Regions from separate parts of the Homo sapiens genome. Here regions 2 and 3 are each linked to region 1. Evidence: promoter capture Hi-C in human tissues and cell types (Jung and others, 2019). All regions are on one chromosome and are shown on one strand. The core of a region is centred on a gene start or on the middle of the fragment in contact, and the rest is flanking DNA. Distances in the headings are between cores, read along the strand shown. Region 1 holds the start of FNDC9 (fibronectin type III domain containing 9). Region 2 overlaps CYFIP2 (cytoplasmic FMR1 interacting protein 2). Region 3 overlaps CYFIP2 (cytoplasmic FMR1 interacting protein 2).

Evidence for each region. Contacts are between HindIII fragments. The study calls those that stand out against the background at their distance.
Region 2: a fragment that was not itself captured here is called in contact with the fragment with the promoter of FNDC9 in region 1 in 1 of the 25 tissues and cell types used here (hippocampus).
Region 3: a fragment that was not itself captured here is called in contact with the fragment with the promoter of FNDC9 in region 1 in 1 of the 25 tissues and cell types used here (hippocampus).

Annotation. Positions count from the first base shown.
Region 1 is chr5:157,344,202-157,347,013 of GRCh38, reverse strand. It overlaps FNDC9 (fibronectin type III domain containing 9), which reads left to right and starts at 1,337. Exons shown (of 2, transcript NM_001001343.4): 1 at 1,337-1,473. All of the region lies in intron 23 of CYFIP2 (cytoplasmic FMR1 interacting protein 2), which reads right to left. The HindIII fragment of the contact is 6,264 bases long and covers 1-2,812 here.
Region 2 is chr5:157,289,150-157,291,961 of GRCh38, reverse strand. All of the region lies in intron 3 of CYFIP2 (cytoplasmic FMR1 interacting protein 2), which reads right to left. Among named protein-coding and RNA genes, the nearest start is that of CYFIP2, 24 kb to the right of the region's middle. RefSeq lists a silencer at 250-299. The HindIII fragment of the contact is 6,760 bases long and covers 1-2,812 here.
Region 3 is chr5:157,394,210-157,397,021 of GRCh38, reverse strand. CYFIP2 (cytoplasmic FMR1 interacting protein 2) reads right to left here. Exons shown (of 31, transcript NM_001037333.3): 31 at 1,428-2,812. The region is part of intron 1 of NIPAL4-DT (NIPAL4 divergent transcript); the gene reads left to right. Among named protein-coding and RNA genes, the nearest start is that of FNDC9, 50 kb to the right of the region's middle. The HindIII fragment of the contact is 4,768 bases long and covers 1-2,812 here.

The sequences.
Region 1 (2,812 bases), core at 88-2,587:
TCCAGACACACCCTGTGATCTCAATAGAATGGTGGCAATGGGTTCTTACAAGGTTGAAAGGAACAGGAAGGGATGGAACCTCAAAGCCAGACGGCCCTTTATGAGAAAAGGGGAGGCAAGCAGTCTGGATTCTTGAAAGGAAAGGAACGCTGGGGATGATTCAATCCAGGAGTAGCAAACAGTTTCCATTTCTGGCGTCAACTCCAACTGATTGATTGGGAAGCAGTTTCTTGGGACGCTTGTGTTCAGAGGAACTCTGGGGCTGTTTCTGCACCCAGCTGGAAGCAGTGCTGCATTAGATTCCTAGGGTTGCTATCACAAATTACCATAAATGTGGCAGCTTAACATGACAGAAATTTATTCTCTCACAGTTCTGGAGACCAGAAGCCTGAAATCAAGGCTCTCGCAGAACCATGCCCTCTCCAAGGCTCTAGGGGAGAATGTTTCCTTGCCTTCCCAGCTGCTGATGGCTCCCGGTGTTCCTTGGCTGATGGCAGCATCCTTCCACTCTCTGCCTCTGTTTTCCCTTGGCTTCTTCCCCTTGAGTCTCTCTGTCTTTTCTCTTACAAAGACATTAGTCATTGGATTTAGGGCTCACCCTTAAATCCAGGAAGATTTCATCTTGAGATCCTTAACTAGTTATATCTACGAAGGCTCTATTTCTAAATCAGGTCACATCCTAAGGTTCTGGATGGATATGTATTTTGGGGGGGCATTATTCAACCCAGTGAGAGTGCCATGATGGTTTAGCAAGCTTGACAGGGGTTCAGGGCTGTGCAGGGATAGGGCTCAGGTCTTCTGCCTTCTGATCTGCCATCCTGATGTAGCCCAAGCCCACAGCTTTACAGATGATGGTGGAACTGAGACTCAGACAATAAAAATAAAAGGGTCTTGACCAGTACCATATAACTATGTAATGGCACATGAGTCAAGAATAAAGAAAGATGAAGATAAAGAGGTGGGGTAGGCAGTTGGGATGGGGAAGTGTAGGGGTGGGAGGGGATGAAGATGAATATTACTGCTTTGGTTGTGGAATAACTGAGAAAAGCATCTTTGCATTTAAAACCATTGGCCAAAGAGGATCTAGATGGGACAAGAAAATAATAATCAGCCAACTGGGGAGAAAATGTAGGAGTGTTAGAAGAATTAGTACTGCACTGGGGACCAGTTTTCAGGGGATCATCTGCCCTTTTTCAGCCAAAGGAATGAGAGCTCCTCTCACTGGGCAAAAGCCTTTCCAGGCTGGTCCCTGAAAGCATCGTGCGTACAGATGCCTGCTGGTTGCCATGGTGAATGATGCTGATCTGAAGAAATGAATAATGTGAGCATTAGGGGCGGCAGTGGGATTACTCAGTGTTGAGAGAAACAACACGGAAAGCCCAGAGCAGAGGAGGGAGAAGGCCCCATTCTCTCAGCTTTAATCTACTGCACCTCGGAGGGCAGAGCTCTAACCAGACACGCTGCAAGCATCAGGTAAGACATATAGATGGCTCTTCTTGGAAATGGAAATGGCTTCTTTTCACACTCTGCTTGGAGAAGGGCCGGGCAAATGAATAGTTAAAAATAGGGGAGAATTTAGAAACGGAAACAGAGGAAGAAAAATCAATAAGGGAGACGGACCTGGTCCTAAAAGGTGAGGATGCTATTTGCGTCTTGACAGAAAGCTCTTAAAAATGTCTGCTGAGGTAATTCCATCTGTACAGACAGCTAGTGGCAGATAGGAAGCCAAGAGAACATTTGTGCGTGACAAGAAACAGGATTCCTGATTACTCCTGATGGAAAGGTTTTACACAGGTGGCTGCCTATAATGAATTAAGCTCTTTTCATCGTGGTCGAAAGTGTATTTATAGTGATGTGTGGTGTGGGGAGGATGAGTGTGTAGAGGACACCAAGCTAGGAAACATAAACATTCGGTCTCCTTCATGATGACCTTCCCTGGAAGGGTCTGAGCACATCCGTCTCATCCCTTTCGTTCCCTATTTACTGGGAAGAAATATTCAGCCACATAGAAAGACACTATTCACCTTCCTGAGTATCTTAGTTCACTGTTACCCTTACAGAAGAAAAACAAGGATTAAGAAACTACTCAATGCTGTGCACCTTTCTGCAGCTCCACTCCTGGAGGAAAATGGGCACAAACACAAGAGGATGGGGGAAAGCAGAGGTGAGAGAAAGGCAGGTCATAATAGCCATTGGTTTGGCTTAATATCCAATGCAGGCGAAAATCCAGTTGACAGCTGTTTACTATGTCACTGCAACCCAAAATGAAACCTACGGGGTTTCATGTGAGGGAGGAGAGGCGGAAGACAAAGCAGGGTGAGACTGTTATGTGAATATGCGTAGGCTGACTATGACTGTCTCTGTATTTCTGATCAGGGGCAATCAGTAGAGGGAACTGCATGAGAGAAACTAAAATACTTGAAGATGGCTCTCTCTTATCAAAGCGGGGCCTGGCAATCTAAAGAGGGCTCATTTGATTTGTCTGGAAAAACAGCAACTGGGTCTCAGTCCTGGCACCTCATTTTGCGATAACGTCTGTAACTAAACCCGGCAGCCTTGCATTAGGAAATGTAGTGGTTAGGCGGCACTAAGTCCTTTTTCTACGTATTAGCGGTGTGACATCAGGTTGCTCATCCGTAAAATGGGAATCTAGCTCAGAGGATGTGATGAAGAATAAAGGAAATTAATTACTGCCTGTGAATCATCTAGCATGACAAGTGACATAGCAACCACTTACTGTGAGTGGTTATTACCATGATTAACATTCATAATAACAGCAGAATTAAATAGTGGTAGTTATGCTGATATTAGG
Region 2 (2,812 bases), core at 79-2,578, 55 kb after region 1:
GAAAACTACTGAATTGTACACTTCAAATGGAAATACACTTTGAAAAAAAAATCACCAAAGAAAGAATTTTACTAGGCCATCTCTTTTTATAAATGTTTATATCTATATTAAAAAATGAACTTTATTTTTAAATCCACATACCACCATTTCATAATATCTTATTAGTATAACAGCAGATCAATTTACTTATGACAGTTCTGTTTTCAGCAGCAAATGTCATTGACAAGTCACACTTCAATGATTAATTTAGAGAACTTTAAAAATCAGTAACATGTTGTCCTTGAGAACAGGGAGAACCAATCAAGCCCGTGGGTCCCGCAGTCATCTGCCTCAGAACACATGTCCAAAAGGGGAAGTGACAGTCACGTAAGGAACACGTGTCTACTTGTAGCACCAACCTGCCTGCCGACGGGTGTTAATTCCGACTCATGCATTCAGTGAATGTTTAACTGGGCACTCATGGGTCCCAGGCTCTGTGCTTTGTGCTGCAAACAGCGCAGTGAACAAGAAGAATGTGAACTCTGCCCTACGGACAGTTTGGCCATCAGCCAGATCTGTCATGCAATTATGCTAGAATGTAGAGGTTAGGATGGTGCAGTGGAAAGAGCCCTGGGTGGGGTCTTGGGAAACTTGAGTTCTGGTCCTCACTCTTCTTGGGCCCACCTTTTAACTTGTAATGTCTTAGTTTCCTTACTTGGAGGTAAAGAGTTGGCCTGAATCATTCGTGTTCAACCCTTGTTGTATATTAGAGTCACCTGGGGAATTTGATGCCTAAGCCATGCCCCAGATTAACTAAATATTTATCCCTGGGGATGGGGTGGGGCACTGGTGTTTTTAAACAATCCCCAGGTTGATTCTCTTGTGCAGCCCACATTGACAGCTTCAGGACTAAGGATCTCTAAGGTCCTTTACATTTCTAATATTCTGAAAGTCCATGACTTAAACCCAATGTGAGTGTAGCTCAAATTTTATGTAGTGACAGATCCAGTGATCACTCAGCCCCCATCTCACCCCAGCAAAGAACCCTCAACTCTTCCATATAGTTGGTCAGTTATGTGGTTTACGTACTTCCCCTCCTCCTCTTTTCTCTGGCTATCCTGTCCTTTGAGAGATTCACCTTGCCCAAGTGGGGACAGGAGACATACAAGAAGATGAGCATCTCATACACCCACATTGCTGCTAATAAGCTACCTTAGAAAGACTGGGGAAGGCACGAGGAAGACACTGTTGACTGAAGGGAGATTTTGGTGTTATCCAGGAATGTCAGCATTGCATGCCACTCATGACTCATGCCTAAGCCACATCAACACTCTCCCTGTGTAGGCAGAATAATGGTCCCCCCAAGATGTCTGTATCCTAATCCCTGGTGCCTGTGAATATGTTCCTTCACATGGAAAGAGGCAATTTGCTGATGTGACCAATTAAGAGCCTTGCAATGGGGGTAGGCGGGTGGTGGTGGTTGTTCTGGATTATCCTGGGGAGCCCAGTGTAAACACAAGGTACTCATAAGCAAAAGAGGGAGGCAGAAGAGTCAGAGAAGGAGATTTGAAGATGCAGGCAGAGATCAGAGTGATGTCACTGCTGGCTGGGGGCCACGAGTCAAGGAATGTAGACACCTCTAGAAGCTGGAAAAGGCAAGGGAACAGACTTTCTCCTGGAGCCTGCAGAAGGAATGCGGCCCTGCTGGCACCCTGATTTTAACTCAGTAAGACCCACGTCAGACTTCTGACCTACAAAACTATAAGCAAATAAATCAGTGTTCTTCTAAGCCACTAAGTTTGTGACACTCTATTAGGGCAGTAACAGAAAATGAACACTATCACTCTCCAACCTAACCCCTCCTTCCGACTGCTCTGTTGGTGTCTTGACCTGGTCTTCCTGGGAACTCAGTCAGTGCAGTCCCAGGTGACTGCTAAGCCAGTGTCCCTCACATCCATATCCTCTTAGCTGTACCCCAGTGCCATCACCCTCATTCAGCCTTGAATGCCTGCAGTGTAGATAACTTTAATTATCTTGACTAATTTATTTGCCTCATTCCTACTTGCAACTCATTCTACATATGACTAACACATGGAATCTGTCCCCCAAGCTGCGTTCTGTTCATATCTCTTTTAAGGATAAAGATTTTTCCATTGTTTTTAATTTTTTATTAAATAAACTAAAGCCTTCTGTTATGGGCTGAATTGTGTGCCCCCCAAATTTATAGGTTGAAGCCCTAACCCCACAGGACCTCAGAATGTGACTGTATTTGGAGACGGGGCCTTTAAAGAGGTAATTAAGTTAAAATGAGGCCATTAGAGAGGGCCCTGATCTAATCTGACTGGTGTCCTTATAAAAAGAGGAAATCTGGACACACAGAAAGAAGGTGCCAGAGATGTGTGCACACAGAGAAGAGACCATGTGAGGATGCAGAGAGAAACAGCCATCTGGGAGCCAAGGAAAAAAGTCTGAGGAAAAACCGAACCTACAGACACCTTGATCTTGGACTTCTAATCTCCGGAACGGGGAGGAAATACATTTTTGCTGTTTAAGCCATTTAGTCTGTGGCACTTTGTTAAGGTATCCAAGCCAACGAATACACCCTCTATGCCCCGACCCTTTATTTGTAGGGAATCTGTAAACAATATCCCTATATGCACTTTACAGTCCATACCAGTCACTCCTCGAAAATCCTTGCCCTGTGCCTTTGCTCACACCAGCTCTTCCACATGGTGTGCTCTCCCCGTCTCATCTCTGACTGGTAAAATTCTAACTGTGTGAGACAGCACGGAACAGGAGAAAGAGATCAGGACTGGCAATCAGTCCTGGATTT
Region 3 (2,812 bases), core at 186-2,685, 50 kb before region 1:
CAACAGCTTGTACTGTGCACATGGAAAAGCTGTAGACACTCAATATCAGCCCATGAAAGCAGCCAGGAGGGAGGCTGTACCCTGCAAAGCTACAGGGGTGGAGTTGCCCAAGACCAGGGATCCCACCTCTTGCATCAGTGTGACCTGGATGTGAGACCTGGAGTCAAAGGAGCTCAATTTGGATTTTTAAAATTTGACCACTCTGCTGGATTTTGACTTGCATGGGGCCTGTAACCCCTGTGTTTTGGCCAATTTCTCCCATTTGGAATGGCTGTATCTACCCAATACCTGTACCCCCATTGTATTTAGGAAGTAACTAGCTTGCTTTTCATTTTACAGACTCGTAGGCAGAAGGGACTTGTCTTGTTTCAGATGTGACTTTGGACAATGGACTTTTGGGTTAATGCTGAAATTAGTTAAGACTTTGGGGGACTGTTGGGAAGGCATGATTTGTTTTGAAAGGTGAGGACATGAGATTTGGAGGGGCCAGGGGCAGAAGGATATGGCTTGTCTGTGTCCCCACCCGAATCTCAACTTGTATCTCCCAGAATTCCCACGTGTTGTGGGAGGGACCCAGGGGGAGGTAATTGAATCATGGGGACCCGTCTTTCCCATGTTGTTCTCATGATAGTGAATAAGTCTCATGAGATCTGATGGGTTTATTAGGGGTTTCCGCTTTAGCCTTTTCCTCGTTTTTCTCTTGCTACTGCCATGTAAGAAGTGCCTTTCCCCTCCTGCCATGATTCTGAGGCCTCCCTGGCCATGTCCAACTGTAAGTCCAATTAAACCTCTTTCTTCCCAGTCTTGGGTATGTCTTTATCCCCGTGTGAAAACAGACTAATAAAACCATCTAGGAGATAGGGTGTTGATCTAGACTGATAAGGTTCTGCAGCACTCCTCAGAGTCTTATGGATCTTCGAAGGGAAAGATCATGAAGTGTTCCCCAAATTTATCTTCTTTGGAACCCTTTTTTCACTGAGCATCTAATAGCTAATAGCCCTCCCACTACACTAGCTCAAATATGACTCCTTGTGATGGCAATTTTATGAGGTGATGACATACGTTGAGAAAGACTTTGAGTGTGTGAAGTAGACCCCTCAAAGTGCACCAGTGGGAAATTACCTAGAATCAGGATATCAGAGCTAGAAGAGATCAACTTGTCCAACTTGACAGAAGAGGAAACAGCCCTAGGACTCATCTTAGTGGATGACCTTTAGGAAAGCTTGTGCTATGTGAAATGTGAGGCTCAATTTGTTAAAGATGTAATCCCCCACGTGGGAAAGCAAGCAAAGCCATTAGTTTATTGTGCATTAACCTATATTTTTCTTTGATTCTGTTTTAGGTTGTTTGCTTAGTAATTAGTTTTAATATGGCCTTCTACAGGTCAATGAGGATTAGAATAGAACCAGGAATCAAGACCAAGTTGCTGGTTTTACTAGTTTGGAAGCAGTTTTAATGAAGATGGAAATGTTTATCAACTCAACACAGGTACCCCCAAAATACAAATCAAAATATCATCTTCAGCTGCATAGCAAATATGATTTAAGAATTTAACATCATTATTTGATCACAAGCGTAAATATGTCACCATAAATAAATGTAAATTCATTGTACAAAAATTCCCAACAACTCTTAATACAAATATGGTACATTTGACAGTTTCTGAAACAGATTATTTTTAAAACTTTTTAAAACCTAAGCTTTATTTTTTTCCTGGTTATTAGACACACACAAAAAAAATAAAAAGAGGCTGGGGCAGTAATGCCAAGGAGGAAAGAATATTAAACTCATTGGGTGTTCGGAAATCAGTGCCACTGGCAAGCCAGGGAAATGAAATCTTTCTGCTGAAAGGGAAGACCTCAGTCTACTGGGATCAAGTCTCCTGAAGGTAATGTGACTCGGCCCAGAGGGTCAAATTTAGGGATATGAATGTGGGGTGAGAGAGGTGGGTTATTGAAATAGAAATCTCATCAAATAGATTATTCAAATCTCCATGAAGTCGTGGTCAAGGATTTGGATGGAACTCTAGCCATCTATCAGCTACAGAGAGCCAGCTACCATCCTCAGACAGGACTAAAGATGTAGAAGGATCTGGAACTTTGACATTTTATATGTTTTGAAAGCATGTTCTGCCATCTGGGATAATGTGTCTCTTTTGCCTCTGGAACACATCTATGGTCATCAAGAAGGAAAAGTCAGAAACCAGAATAGAAGGTGGTACCTCCAGACAGGAGGATCTGCCAGTTACTACTTGGAACCTCCTCCCTTCTCTCTTCCCTGTATGATGTATTTTCTTTCATGGCTTAGTGGTAGCTCAAAGCTCAAGGTGACCAGAATGATTCCCTTACAGCAGTGGTTCCCAAACATTGATGTGCAACAGAACAACTTGGGTAGTTTGTAGAAAGGGCAGATTTCCTGGCCCTATTCCCAGAGATTCAGAATTAGTAGGTTTGAGGTGGGGCCCAGGAATCTGCACTCAAATGTGCTACTCTCAGGATCTGACCTAAGGGGCCTTTCATATGTGGCCCCCTTTCCTCACCGGAGGACATAAGTGCATCACACAAACCTCTTGCTGTGGGCACTTCCTTTGGGGTTAAAAATGGGACCATTTGATTAAGGCAACCATTGCTAACCATCTTACTTCCCTGGGCTGGAGAAATATCAAATGTCACATTTTATGTTCTTAAAATCTCAGGGCCACAGATTTCCTTTGACAATGACATGCTCTGTAACATGAAATTTATATCCTAAAGCCTTTTGTCCTTCCTTCTTACCACACTCGGTGGGAGATTCTGCAGAAGACTTTTGGTTC